4 separate regions of the Homo sapiens genome follow, and regions 2, 3 and 4 are each linked to region 1. The links are contacts of gene promoters, found by promoter capture Hi-C in blood cells and fetal thymus (Javierre and others, 2016). All regions are on one chromosome and are shown on one strand. The core of a region is centred on a gene start or on the middle of the fragment in contact, and the rest is flanking DNA. Distances in the headings are between cores, read along the strand shown. Region 1 holds the start of TFB1M (transcription factor B1, mitochondrial). Region 2 holds the start of FBXO5 (F-box protein 5). Region 3 has its middle 4.6 kb from the start of ZDHHC14. Region 4 holds the start of LOC105378076 (a long non-coding RNA gene).

What was found. The method cuts DNA at HindIII sites, captures the fragments that hold promoters and counts their contacts. A CHiCAGO score of 5 or more calls a contact.
Region 2: a contact is called between the fragment with the promoter of FBXO5 here and the fragment with the promoter of TFB1M in region 1, in 3 of 17 cell types (total CD8 T cells, naive CD8 T cells and fetal thymus). The highest score is 8.4, in total CD8 T cells.
Region 3: a contact is called between a fragment that was not itself captured here and the fragment with the promoter of TFB1M in region 1, in 1 of 17 cell types (fetal thymus). The highest score is 5.2, in fetal thymus.
Region 4: a contact is called between a fragment that was not itself captured here and the fragment with the promoter of TFB1M in region 1, in 2 of 17 cell types (fetal thymus and monocytes). The highest score is 7.3, in fetal thymus.

What each region holds. Positions count from the first base shown.
Region 1 is chr6:155,313,022-155,315,804 of GRCh38, reverse strand. TFB1M (transcription factor B1, mitochondrial) reads left to right here and starts at 1,321. Exons shown (of 7, transcript NM_016020.4): 1 at 1,321-1,509. The coding sequence starts at 1,377. RefSeq lists enhancers at 507-556, 1,107-1,156, 238-1,228, 1,227-1,546 and a silencer at 977-1,056. The HindIII fragment of the contact is 4,007 bases long and covers 1-2,783 here.
Region 2 is chr6:152,981,633-152,984,415 of GRCh38, reverse strand. FBXO5 (F-box protein 5) reads left to right here and starts at 1,375. Exons shown (of 5, transcript NM_012177.5): 1 at 1,375-1,559. The coding sequence starts at 1,457. RefSeq lists enhancers at 412-531, 822-1,041 and silencers at 1,072-1,391, 1,872-1,941. The HindIII fragment of the contact is 9,521 bases long and covers 1-2,469 here.
Region 3 is chr6:157,375,206-157,377,988 of GRCh38, reverse strand. No RefSeq gene overlaps it. Among named protein-coding and RNA genes, the nearest start is that of ZDHHC14, 4.6 kb to the left of the region's middle. The HindIII fragment of the contact is 371 bases long and covers 1,138-1,508 here.
Region 4 is chr6:157,323,893-157,326,675 of GRCh38, reverse strand. TMEM242-DT (TMEM242 divergent transcript) reads right to left here. Exons shown (of 1, transcript NR_187268.1): 1 at 2,199-2,783. LOC105378076 (a long non-coding RNA gene) reads right to left here and starts at 445. Exons shown (of 3, transcript XR_943165.2): 1 at 1-445. RefSeq lists an enhancer at 2,445-2,783. The HindIII fragment of the contact is 2,235 bases long and covers 250-2,484 here.

The sequences.
Region 1 (2,783 bases), core at 72-2,571:
TCTGTACTTTGCTGTCTGACTCTGGGCATTGTCAAATGACCTCACCTCCCCTATTTCTTCACAGCAAACTAAGAATAATAATCTCATTCACATGGGACCATTGTGAGGAGTACGGGAAATAATGAATATAACTGTGAAATAATGCTTTGTCAGGTATACTGTGTTTTGGACGATAAGATATCTGAATCAAGAGTTTGTACTTCCAGTCTACATTTTGATGCCACGTTGGGCAAATCTCCTTACCTCTATGGTAGTCATCACTATTTTTTAAAGCTAGGAGATTATCTCAGTTCCTTTTAAAACAGCTTTTATAGAAGGTGGTTGAGTTTTCCACTGGAATTTCAAAGTACTCCTCATTTTTATATCCATACCCATAGTTGTTTCGTTTTCCATTAGCTTTTTTAAAAACTTACTAATTGAGGAACAGAAACTTTAAAATTCATTTGTGATCAACGCAGCAATGTCCAAACATAAGCAGGGTTAAAACAGCAAAATTCTCCCACCTATCAGAGAAACTTTAATTTTTTTTTTTTTTTGCTTCGTTGTTTTTATCTCGTATAACGGAAAGACAGAACTCATATTTCAGTCTTCTCTCTGTTCTTAGCTGTAATCCTAGCAAATCGAATGACCTCTTTACACTGGCCAATTATTCATCTGCCAAATAATAACAGCCACCACTGATCACGTGGGAGCTTACCCAATGCCATGCGTGCACTATGTTCTGAACGTGCACACCAGGCGATCTCTCTCATTTAGTGCTCACAATTTTGAGGTAGACATTAGCTCCATTTAACTGATGAAAAAACTGAGGCTGAACGAAGTTAAAAACCCATCATGCAGCATCTGCAGAGCGGCGGTTCTAAAAACGCCTCACAGTAAGAAAGAATTGCTAACAAACAGTAGCTTTGCCTCTAAGCACCCGCTTTTCCTCTAATATTCACAGACAGGTATTTAGAACGTTAAAGAGCCGGAAGCCCTTGGGAACTTCAGGGCGGGAGTAAACCGGCTGCACCTCTCAGAGCAACTCCTCCGAAAAACCCCACCCTGTCCAGGCCCCGCCTCGTCCCGCCCTCCTGGGCGCTCTCCCCATAGCCCGCCCAGGAGAAGCCTAGTCCACCCGGCTCTCCCCCGGCTCTCACAGGCGGAAGCCGCCGACCACCCAGCCTGCCCTTCTCGCGGCAGGACTTAGCGCATGCGCTCTCAGCACGCCGGGAATTTCCTGTCCGCGGTCATCGCTTCCGGTGGGATAGGTCTGACCAATGGGGCTGACTCCGAGGCGGGCCTTAGGTCTCGCAGGTTCCTCCCCTGCGCGTTTCTTTCGGAGCGGCGGTGAAGGTCCTGGGTGAGGTAGGGTTGGATGGTGCTTGCCGCGTATCATGGCTGCCTCCGGAAAACTCAGCACTTGCCGTCTCCCTCCGTTGCCCACGATTCGAGAAATCATTAAGTTGTTAAGACTGCAAGCAGCGAAGCAGCTATCACAGAATTTCCTCCTGGACTTGAGGCTGACAGGTGGATGGCTTAGCAGTGCTCCCCGGATGTCTCCCCAGTGTCCGTGGGGGCGTGGGCCGGGGGGTCTTGCACGTCCCCGCGGGCGGGTGTCCAGGCACTGGCGTGCGACGGGCTTTTGGTCAGGTCCTTCGACCTCTTTGTATCAGAACTCCGGTCCCACCGCCCAGGAGACACGTGAAGTGCGTTGATTGCTCACAAAACTCCGCGTTCGGGGGGGTGTAGCCTGCCGGCAGGCTGCATAAATGCCAAGCTCCCTAGGGGAGGAAGGGTTCATGGGTCGTGAAAGGCGCTAGTGAATATTGGAATCTGGGTCACTGTGAAATCAATCATTCTGAAATAGTACAGCACATGCTGACTGCAGTTGCTTTACATGCAGTTTAAAGTTACCAGAATTTAAATTGATGCGAGGATTTTATCAATAACTTGGTGAAAAGAGTATCCCTCGTATGATTCGTTTTTTAAACGTTTACCTGTTCAGTCTAAGCCTCGGGGGCGCTAATATTCATTCATAAGTACATATTACACAAGCAACATTGTGCTAGTGCCGGGGGTAGGATATGGGCGTGAACAAGGCGGTGTTTCCTCGAGGAGCTTACTTTTAGCAAGTTTACATTCCCACACCTAATTGTTTAAAGTTACTTTTTATGAGATATAATTTATGTGCAATAAAATTAATAAGTTTGAAGTGCTCAATTTGATGAGTTTTGACGAATGTATTTATATATTGGTTTAACCACCATCACCATTGCTTAGTGATGTTCTATGAGATGAGGTTGCAAAAATATATTACAAATACGTCTACTAAGTCACGGCTGGAGTACTTAGGTTTTGAGATTTTCATATTTCATTCTATTTAGTCCCACTTCAGAAGTTGAAAAGAGCAGTAAATCACACCCAAAAAGTTCATTTTCACTTAAATGAAGCACACTCCAGAAAACATAAAATGTTTTATTTCTTGGACATGTAGTCTTTATTCTGCCTGTACCAATATGACTTTGGATAAAATAATTTAACTCAAGTTTTCTCTTTTTTTTTTTTTTCTTTTTTTAAGATGGAGTTTCACTCTTGTTGCCCAAGCTGGAGTGCAATGGCATGATCTCAGCTCACTGCAACCTCCGCCTCCCCGGTTCAAGTGATTCTCGTGCCTCAGCCTCCCAGGTAGCTAGGATTACAGGCGTGAGCCACCGTGCCTAGCTAATTTTGTGTTTTTAGTAAAGACAGGGTTTCACTATGTTGCTCAGGCTGGTCTCAAACTCCTGATCTCAAGTGATCCA
Region 2 (2,783 bases), core at 126-2,625, 2.3 Mb after region 1:
CTTGTATGATTCATCCTAATCCTGGCCGCGCCCCACAACTAATTATCAAAATTTTAGGTAAAGACAGGATCCACCCAGCACTTGTATGATTCATCCTAATCCTGGCCGCGCCCCACCGGACTCGTCACTAACGGTACTGAAAACTGACTACAGCCAAGAACTCACTCCGAGGCTGCAGAAAGGCACCAGAGGGAAACAGCAAAGGAGGATTCGCCGTTTTGGAGTTCACATCCCGTTGCTTCACTGGGCTGTAGCCATAAAGCTGAGTTCAGGGAATGCACTGCCCTACTTAAGTGCATATTCAAATTGTGAAAAGTTAAGCATCACTAATACTCCGGTACACTTTCATACTGACGTCCATGCCAGCCATCACTAAAAACTCCCTTGGCCACGGGGGTCCAGCCCAAGAGGGCGGGCACTTCTATTTATTCTTTTTTTGGGAGCAGGACTACTGTCTCCTACACCTGGCCCTTTAAGGAAAGGAACAAAAACCCAGGGGAGCGTAGCTGCACACTCAGTAAACTTAACGTTCCTATAAACCAGTAGCGTCTGAAGTGTGGTTGAAAATACAAATAAACGCGCTTGCAAGGAAGAAGTGCCTCGGTCCTACCCTCGGCCCCGCCGGAAGGCCCTGGGAGATGCAGCCGCAGGTCTCCTGCTACAGCCGCTGGGGAAGGCCGCACAGCCTCCTCGCCCACCCCGGAGGAAAAAATCGCGGGGGACTCCAGTGCGCAGGCGCCGACCCGCCAACTCCGCAGCCACAGCCCGCCAAGGCGCCTGCGCAGAGGCGTGGGTCAAGGGGAGGGTCGAGTTAGGAGGGAGAGCAGAGCGCGCGCGTAAATCCTAGAGAGGCGGGCTAAGCTGGACTGGGGGGAGGGTCCGTCTTCCGGAAAGTCTGGATTCCCGGACGAGCCGAGTTGCTGCTCACCGAACTCCCGTTCGAGAGATGATCGAAGAAAGTCGGCTACCATTTGTACCCATCAAAGATCTCCAGATGGAAGCCAGCGCTGAATTTGGGCTGAGATTAGGACTTGCAGGAGGCCGGTCCAGAAGACGGCGGAAGGAATCTTGGCGGGCGCACGCATGCGTGATAGACCCTCCACACGTGTGGCCGGGCCGCGGCCTCCCCGTGCTCGGAGGTCCCGCCCCCGGCCGTAGCATCTTTCCGGACGTGGGGAGCCGGTAAGCTGGAAGGGGGCTGGGCTTCGCGGCTCGGCCCCGCCTCGGCAGCCTCCAATTGGGCGCGGACGAGGGCGCCCCCACCCACTGCCCTCCTATTGGTGCGCGCATGCAAGCGACGCGTCTCATTGGACCGCGCGGATTTAGGCACCAAATTCAAAGATTTTAAAAGTACCAGCTGGCGCCTTTTAAGAGATACAGGTCTGTGAAGCAGGCAGGTTGCTCAGCTGCCCCCGGAGCGGTTCCTCCACCTGAGGCAGACTCCACGTCGGCTGGCATGAGCCGGCGCCCCTGCAGCTGCGCCCTACGGCCACCCCGCTGCTCCTGCAGCGCCAGCCCCAGCGCAGTGACAGCCGCCGGGCGCCCTCGACCCTCGGATAGTGAGTGAGGGGAGCGGTCGCGAGGGGGGCGCGCACGCCAGGAGGGGTGCACGGGGAGGGTCGCAGCCTGAGACCCTGACCCGACGTCCCTCGGAGCCTGGACGCGCGGCCATGCCACACGCCCGGCCTCGGGCGGCGGCAGCGGTTCCTGGGTCCGGGAGGAGGGCGGCTGGGTGTCGGGGGGAAGCCAGAAGAGCCAGATGTGCAGGGGCGGGATGGCGGGCCGCGGGGTCCCGCCACCCACGCCGACCGTGGACTCCAGCCCCGGGAGGTGCGGGTCGTGGCATCCCAGGGCGCCCTTTTTCCTCCTCGGAAGACCCACCTACCCCACCCTGCTTGAATAGGCGCCAAATGCCCCTCCCCTCCCCCACCCCGGGGCCCCCGGCGGTGACAGGGCTGCGAGCGAGAAGCCCCCAGGGCCTGGCCAGGTGCCTCACCTTCTCCCCCTGCGCCCCTTTTCTACATCTGCCCCGCACCCTCACAGCCAAAGGCAGTTTCCCCGATTTTTCGCGGTCCCAGCCTTGCTGGCGGGCGCGGGAGATCGCGCTCGCGGTTATCTCCCGCCTCCTCCGCGTGTCCCGCGCCCTGAGGGGCAGCCCCACCGATCCCTCAGGAGTTCCAGGGTCTCCCTCCCCACTCCCGCCAAATGGAGAGACACCCCCCCAACTCATTGGACCAAACTCAACTGGGACATCCAAACAAAAACGTTACTTTTTCCCAATTTTTTCTCCCTTTGCCCGTTAACCCAGTCTCAGGGCCTGGAGTGGAAAGGGAAGACTTTAAAAAAAGCAATTTTTACTACGAACCTTGAATTTGTCCATAGTATTAAGATGATTTTGTAAGAATCGAAGAATTGGTGACTTTTTCCCGATAACTCATGAAGAATTAGATAGTCCTTTATTTCAAAGCTTGCAGAGAATGGAATGCACTCAAATGCTTATTTTTATCCTCTTTGTTGCTACCTCTAAATAAAATCTATATGCACTTATTTTTACCTGAGAAATAACCCAAAATGAAAAAATTTAGCAATTCGGCATTGTACTATTTTGTAATGACTCTATTATTAAAAAAGAACTCTAGAAAAAAATACTTAATTTTAATTTTAATAGATTAAATATATTTCTAGAAGATCCTGGATCGTCAGTCTACCATCGAAATTCTGAAGCTTGATGGCCTTATGAGGGTTTTTTTTTTTTCTTTTTTGATAACTCTAATTGTCTTTAC
Region 3 (2,783 bases), core at 74-2,573, 2.1 Mb before region 1:
GAACCAATCTCCTGAGGATACTGAGGGATGACTGTAAAACCTACTGTATAAGGGATGGTAGAGTTTATTCATTTATTTTACAGTTATCTATTTCAGGGCCTAGATTGTGCTAAGTACTGTTTTAGCAGCAGTGATACAAAAAGATCCAAGATAGAAGCTTATATTTGGGGACTGGGGGAGAGGTGGAGAGAATAAACAAATAAATAAATGACTAGTAAGACAATTTCAGAGAGTAATTACAAGAACGAAAAAACAAAGCAGGGTTATGGGATGGAGAGACTGGGGTCGGGCAGAGAATCGAATGATGGGAAGGGGCAAGTACCAAGTCCTCAAGGCAGAACAACCTGGAAAATTCTAGGGGTACAAAGAAAAACCAGTCTGGCTGGAGTGGAGCGAGGGCCAGGGAGAGAGGGAAAAAGGAACAGGAATTCATTCTGTGTGCACCAGCATCAATTCTGTATGCCACACTCTGTACCCACCATCGGTGTAAGTGTTGAGGGGTCTGAAAGAAAAATCACCGTCCTTGCCCTCCAGGAATGTATAGATTCCAAACTTTAATGCTAGAGGGACGTCAGCGTATCTAGAATTAGAGACCAAAACTTGTATTTCTCAAACAAGGACACTGAAAAGTCAAAAGACCTGCTAAAAATTCCTTGAGAATGCCTCGCCAATAACAAATAATCCAAAAATGAGTCTTGAATTGAATTGAAAGAGTGCATGATCTACTTTTGCTAAATGGGGTTTAGCCTAATACTGCCTCTTTACATATTTTAAGTTTGGCCTAAAGGTTTCTCTGTACACTGAACTGTAGCCTAAATGGAAGTGTAAACAGAGTGTGATCTACTCGGGTGTCAATTACTGAGTTTTGGCCACTCAATTGTGGCCAGCTGTTCAAACCATGTTCAAATAAGACAAATGCTGAGCTGTAACCATCTGGCTGTTTCCGTACCTCATTTCCGCTTTCTGTACGTCACTTTCTTTTTTCTGTCCATAAATTCTCTTCCACCACGCGACTGCACTGCAGTCTTTGAGGCTACCCTGGCTCAGGAGGCTGCCCAATTCATGAATCATTCTTTGCTCAGTTAAACTATTTTAAATTGAATTCAGCTGAAGTTTTTCTTTTAGCACTTTAAAGCTTTAGAAAATTGATAATGTTTAGTGCTTGTCACGTGCAGGTCAGTATGATGAAGGTAAATGCGGCAGAGAAACTACAGTTAAGGTTGGGAAACAAGATGGAGGCACATGAGAAATTCAATAATACAAGAGAACGATATTATAAAAATAATGATCTTTTCTCCAGAGTATTTTTGTATTAGTCAATCTCCTGGTTCTTTATACATTTAGATCATTAAATCCGGAGGACAACCTGATGAGGCAGGGATTATTATCTTTATTTCACAGAGGAGGAAACTGAAGATCAGAGAAGTTAGGTGATTTGCCCAGGGTTTTGCAGTAAGTAAGTAATAGAGTCAAGATTCTAGGCCAGGTATGAATGTCTGACTCAAGCTTTCCTATATCCCCCACACAATGGAAAGAGCACGCGGTCTGATGAACCAACAACTGAGTGGAATAGAGAAATCATCTTGATTTCAGAGTGAAGAGAAATCTCAGGCCCAGCCTGTAGCAAAGTGCACCTCTGACCTTGACAGTTTGGACAGGAAGAATATGAAAGGGTTAGTCTCTCAGGGAAATGGGGATGGGTACAGAAAAGTAAATTATTGGGAAAGTGCATGATGTTTCTAGCTGGAGTAGAACTGACAGGGATCCAAGCACAATTAGTTTATTTGGGAGGGGATTGCAGAAAACACCAGCAGAAGAGTGAGGAAGTGAGATAGGGAGGGAAAAGAAACCAATAAAGCATGCGCTATCGAGCAAGCTACCATGGTGGGCCACCGAAATCGGACCCTCTAGGGCAGTGGTCCCCAACTTTTTTGGCACCAAGGACCAGTTTTGTGGAAAACAATTTTTCCACGAACTGGAGGGTGAGGGGATGGGGGCATGGTTTTGGGATGAGTCAAGTGCATTACATTGATTGTGTACTTTATTTCTATTATTAGTATTACATTATAATATATAAAGAAGTAATTATACAACTCACCATAAGGTAGAATCAGTGGGAGTCTGAGCTGTTTTCCTGCAATTAGACGGCCCCAGTGGGGGTGATGGGAGGTAGTGACAGATCATCAAGCATTAGAGTCTCATAATGAGCATGCAACCTAGGTCCCTCACATGCTCAGTTCACAACAGGGTTCACACTCCTATGAGAATCTAATGCTAATCTGACAGGAGATGGAGCTCAGGCAGTAATGCGAGCGACGGGGAGGGCTGTAAATACAGATGAAGCTTCGCTCACTTGTCCACTGCTCACCTCCTGCTGCGCAGCCCGGTTCCTAACAGGCCGTGGACCAGTACTGGTCCGTGTCTCTGGGGTTTGGGGATCCCTGCTCTAGGGGACTCTGGGAGGCCCGAGGTGTGCAACCTGCCAGAGTTATCCCAACTGAGGGGCAAGAAAGCTGAAGTTTATTCACCAATTCCCCATCTGTTATTAGTCGAGACCTCCTTCTGGGAGCATTACTCTACCTTCTTTACGTTTTCATCACTCTCCTCAGTTGTCACTGCCATCAGCAATTACAGCAACGAGCTGGCCCTCCCTGGTTTGTTAGTATCTTTGATTCTAGTAGGTCTCTCCCTGTCCTCATCTGACTCAGTGGATTCACTGACAATAGGGGTTATGTTATTCACAAAGCTAGAGCATTGTTCTTTTCATGTCAGCAGCTCAAAGC
Region 4 (2,783 bases), core at 118-2,617, 2.0 Mb before region 1:
TGAGGCTCTGGAAACACCATCTCCCAGGATCTGGCACCAAGCAAGTCACAGGGCAGGTGCTGGGGGCTAGTGAGAAATGGGGCTGTAGTAGTCTCCACAAACAGGCCTTGACCAAGGAGCTCGCACCTCCTCCTCTCCTTGGTATGTATCCCACAAAGATCCTCAAAATGCAAATTTTGAGGCTGAAGTGTAAACCATTGGTTTGTGTCAATTGCCTTTTCAGTCCTGTGTATATTGGGAAAACAAGCTTTCAAGTAGAAAAAAGGAAGATTGCCTTTTACTTTGGGGATTTAGAAAGAAGATAGAGGTTTGTGAGCTGCAACATCCAAAACAAAGCAGACACCAGTTTCCTAGGATGTGCAGTTACTTTCAATGGAGACCAGCTCTGGAATGCAGGACTCTGTAATTTCCCTAGATTACAAGATCTATTATCTCCCTTCTGTTCCTTATAGTAAGCAGTGATATAAACCTTAAATTATTATTATTATTATTATCATCATCATCATCATCATCTTGAGACGGAGTCTTGCTCTGTCACCCAGGCTGGAGTGCAGTGGCATGATCTTGGCTCACTGCAACCTCTGCCTCCTGGGTTGAAGCGATTCTCCTGCCTCAGCCTCCCAAGTAGCTGAAATTACAGGCGCCGCCACCACACCCAGCTAATTTTTATATTTTTAGTAGAGATGGGGTTTCGCCATGTTAGCCAGGCTGGTCTCAAACTCCTGACCTCAAGTGATCTGCCTGCCTCGACCTCCCAAAGCACTAGGATTACAGGTTTGAGCCACTGTGCCCAGCTTAATCCTTAAAATGTTTCTGTCGTTTTCTAAGGGGACAGCAAAGAAGAGAGTGGAGGAATCTGCACTTTTTCTCCCTAAGCAGTCTTGGGAAAACAGATTTCCAAGTGCTAAAGTGTATGGTGTGGATTTTAAGAGGTGTAATCCATAAGAGGAAGGCACACAGAAGATGTTCTCGAAGTGGAATCCGTGGCAACAGCATCACCTGGGAACTTAGACATACACGTTCTCAGCCCCCACTGAGTCACAGACTCTGGGAATGGGGCCCAGCAAGCTGAGTGCAATAAGCCTTCCAGGTGATTCCAATATTCAAGTTCACACTTGAGGACGACTGGCACAGTGGATAAGGAAGGACCTGCTTTTAAGCCCTGTCTCTGCCACTTAACAGCTGTGTGAGCTTGAGCAAGTTAGTCTTTCTGAGTTTATGGAGAGGAATAAATGAGATAATGTACTTGAAGCACTTAGTGCAATGTCAGATATATAGAAAGCACTCAATACATGTTAGCAGCTATGGTTACTGTTATGTATGAGGGGAAGGAAAAAGGATAGGTCCTTCAACAAATTAGCACAGCATTTACCAGCTTAAAAGCCCTTTCAGATACTGACGTGTTTCCAGGAAATCCAAAGGTCACATACATTCTGTGTGATCTCATCCACACAAAAATTTGAACAGAGCAGTAGTTTTTTATCATCAGAAACCCCACGGAGCTTTTACATTCTGCCCTGCCACCCGCGGGCCTTCAGAGCTCTAATCTCCCGTGGTAGATAGACCTTGATAATCCATCATTTTTAAAAATCCCCATAGGCAATGCTGCAAAATAGCTACTGGAATCAAAGGTGGTAATAGTTAGAGCTAACATGTATTGAATATTTATATGTGCCAGGCACTGTGCTAACTTCTTTATAGATGTTGCTTCATTTAATTCTCACAGTAATCCTATGAGTTAGGTACTATCAGTTTTTGTGTGTGGGGGGGGCGGGATGGGGTGGATGGCAGAGTTTCACTCTTGTCATCCAGGCTGGAGTGCAACGGCTCGATCTCGGCTCACTGCAACCTCTCCCTCCCAGGTTCAAGCCATTCTCCTGCCTCAGCCTCCCGAGTAGCTGGGATTACAGTCCCGCATCATTAGACTCCGCTAATTTTTGTATTTTTAGTAGAAACGGGGTTTCACCATGTTGGCCAGGCTGATCTCGAACTTCTGATCTCCACCTGCCTCAGCCTCCCAAAGTGCTGGGATTACAGGCGTGAACCACCGCGCCTGGCCTACTACCAGTTTTTAAATTTTACAGGTGAGGAAACTGAGCTATAGAGGGGCTAAGTTACCCCAAGTTCACACACCTGAGAAGCGGTTTAGGACCCGAGCCCAGGTTTGAGCTATTAACTGCACTTCACTGACGCAAAAATGGATGCATTCATTTACTCATTCATCCAACATGCATTTGATGTTGGTAACCAGTTAATATCTGAAAGCTGGGGGATATAAACTGAACATAGAGTCCCATCTCCATCCTCAGGAAACTCATGCCCTCCGGTGATGGGGGGCAGGACAAATAGCAGAGAGACCGCCTTATTTTACAAGATGTCATTGTTCTCTGAGAGGCTGAAAAGATTTTCTATCACCACTAGCCTCCTCCTCTCCACGGCCATTTACAGAATGGGCAAACCAGCCTCCCAGCGGAAGACCAAGCTTGCTAGCGGTCAACGTTGCCGGCAGCTCTGCAAGCGCTTCCAGCGGGCGTCGCTCTCCTTTCGGGGGTGGTACTTTCATTCGGTCATCCTGTGAGTGTTCCACTTCCCGACGGAGGCCGAGCACTCACACCGCGGCGGAGGTACCCGTCACCGCAGAACCGGGTGGCTGGCTCTCCTCCAGGGAGAAAGCCTGTCACTTATTCCTCAACACTGTTGGGAAGTTACCTAGAAAAGTACAGACAGAAGACCTAGGCTTGCGTTTTAGAATCGTGGAGTGTTAGCGCTGGCCAAATCGTTGG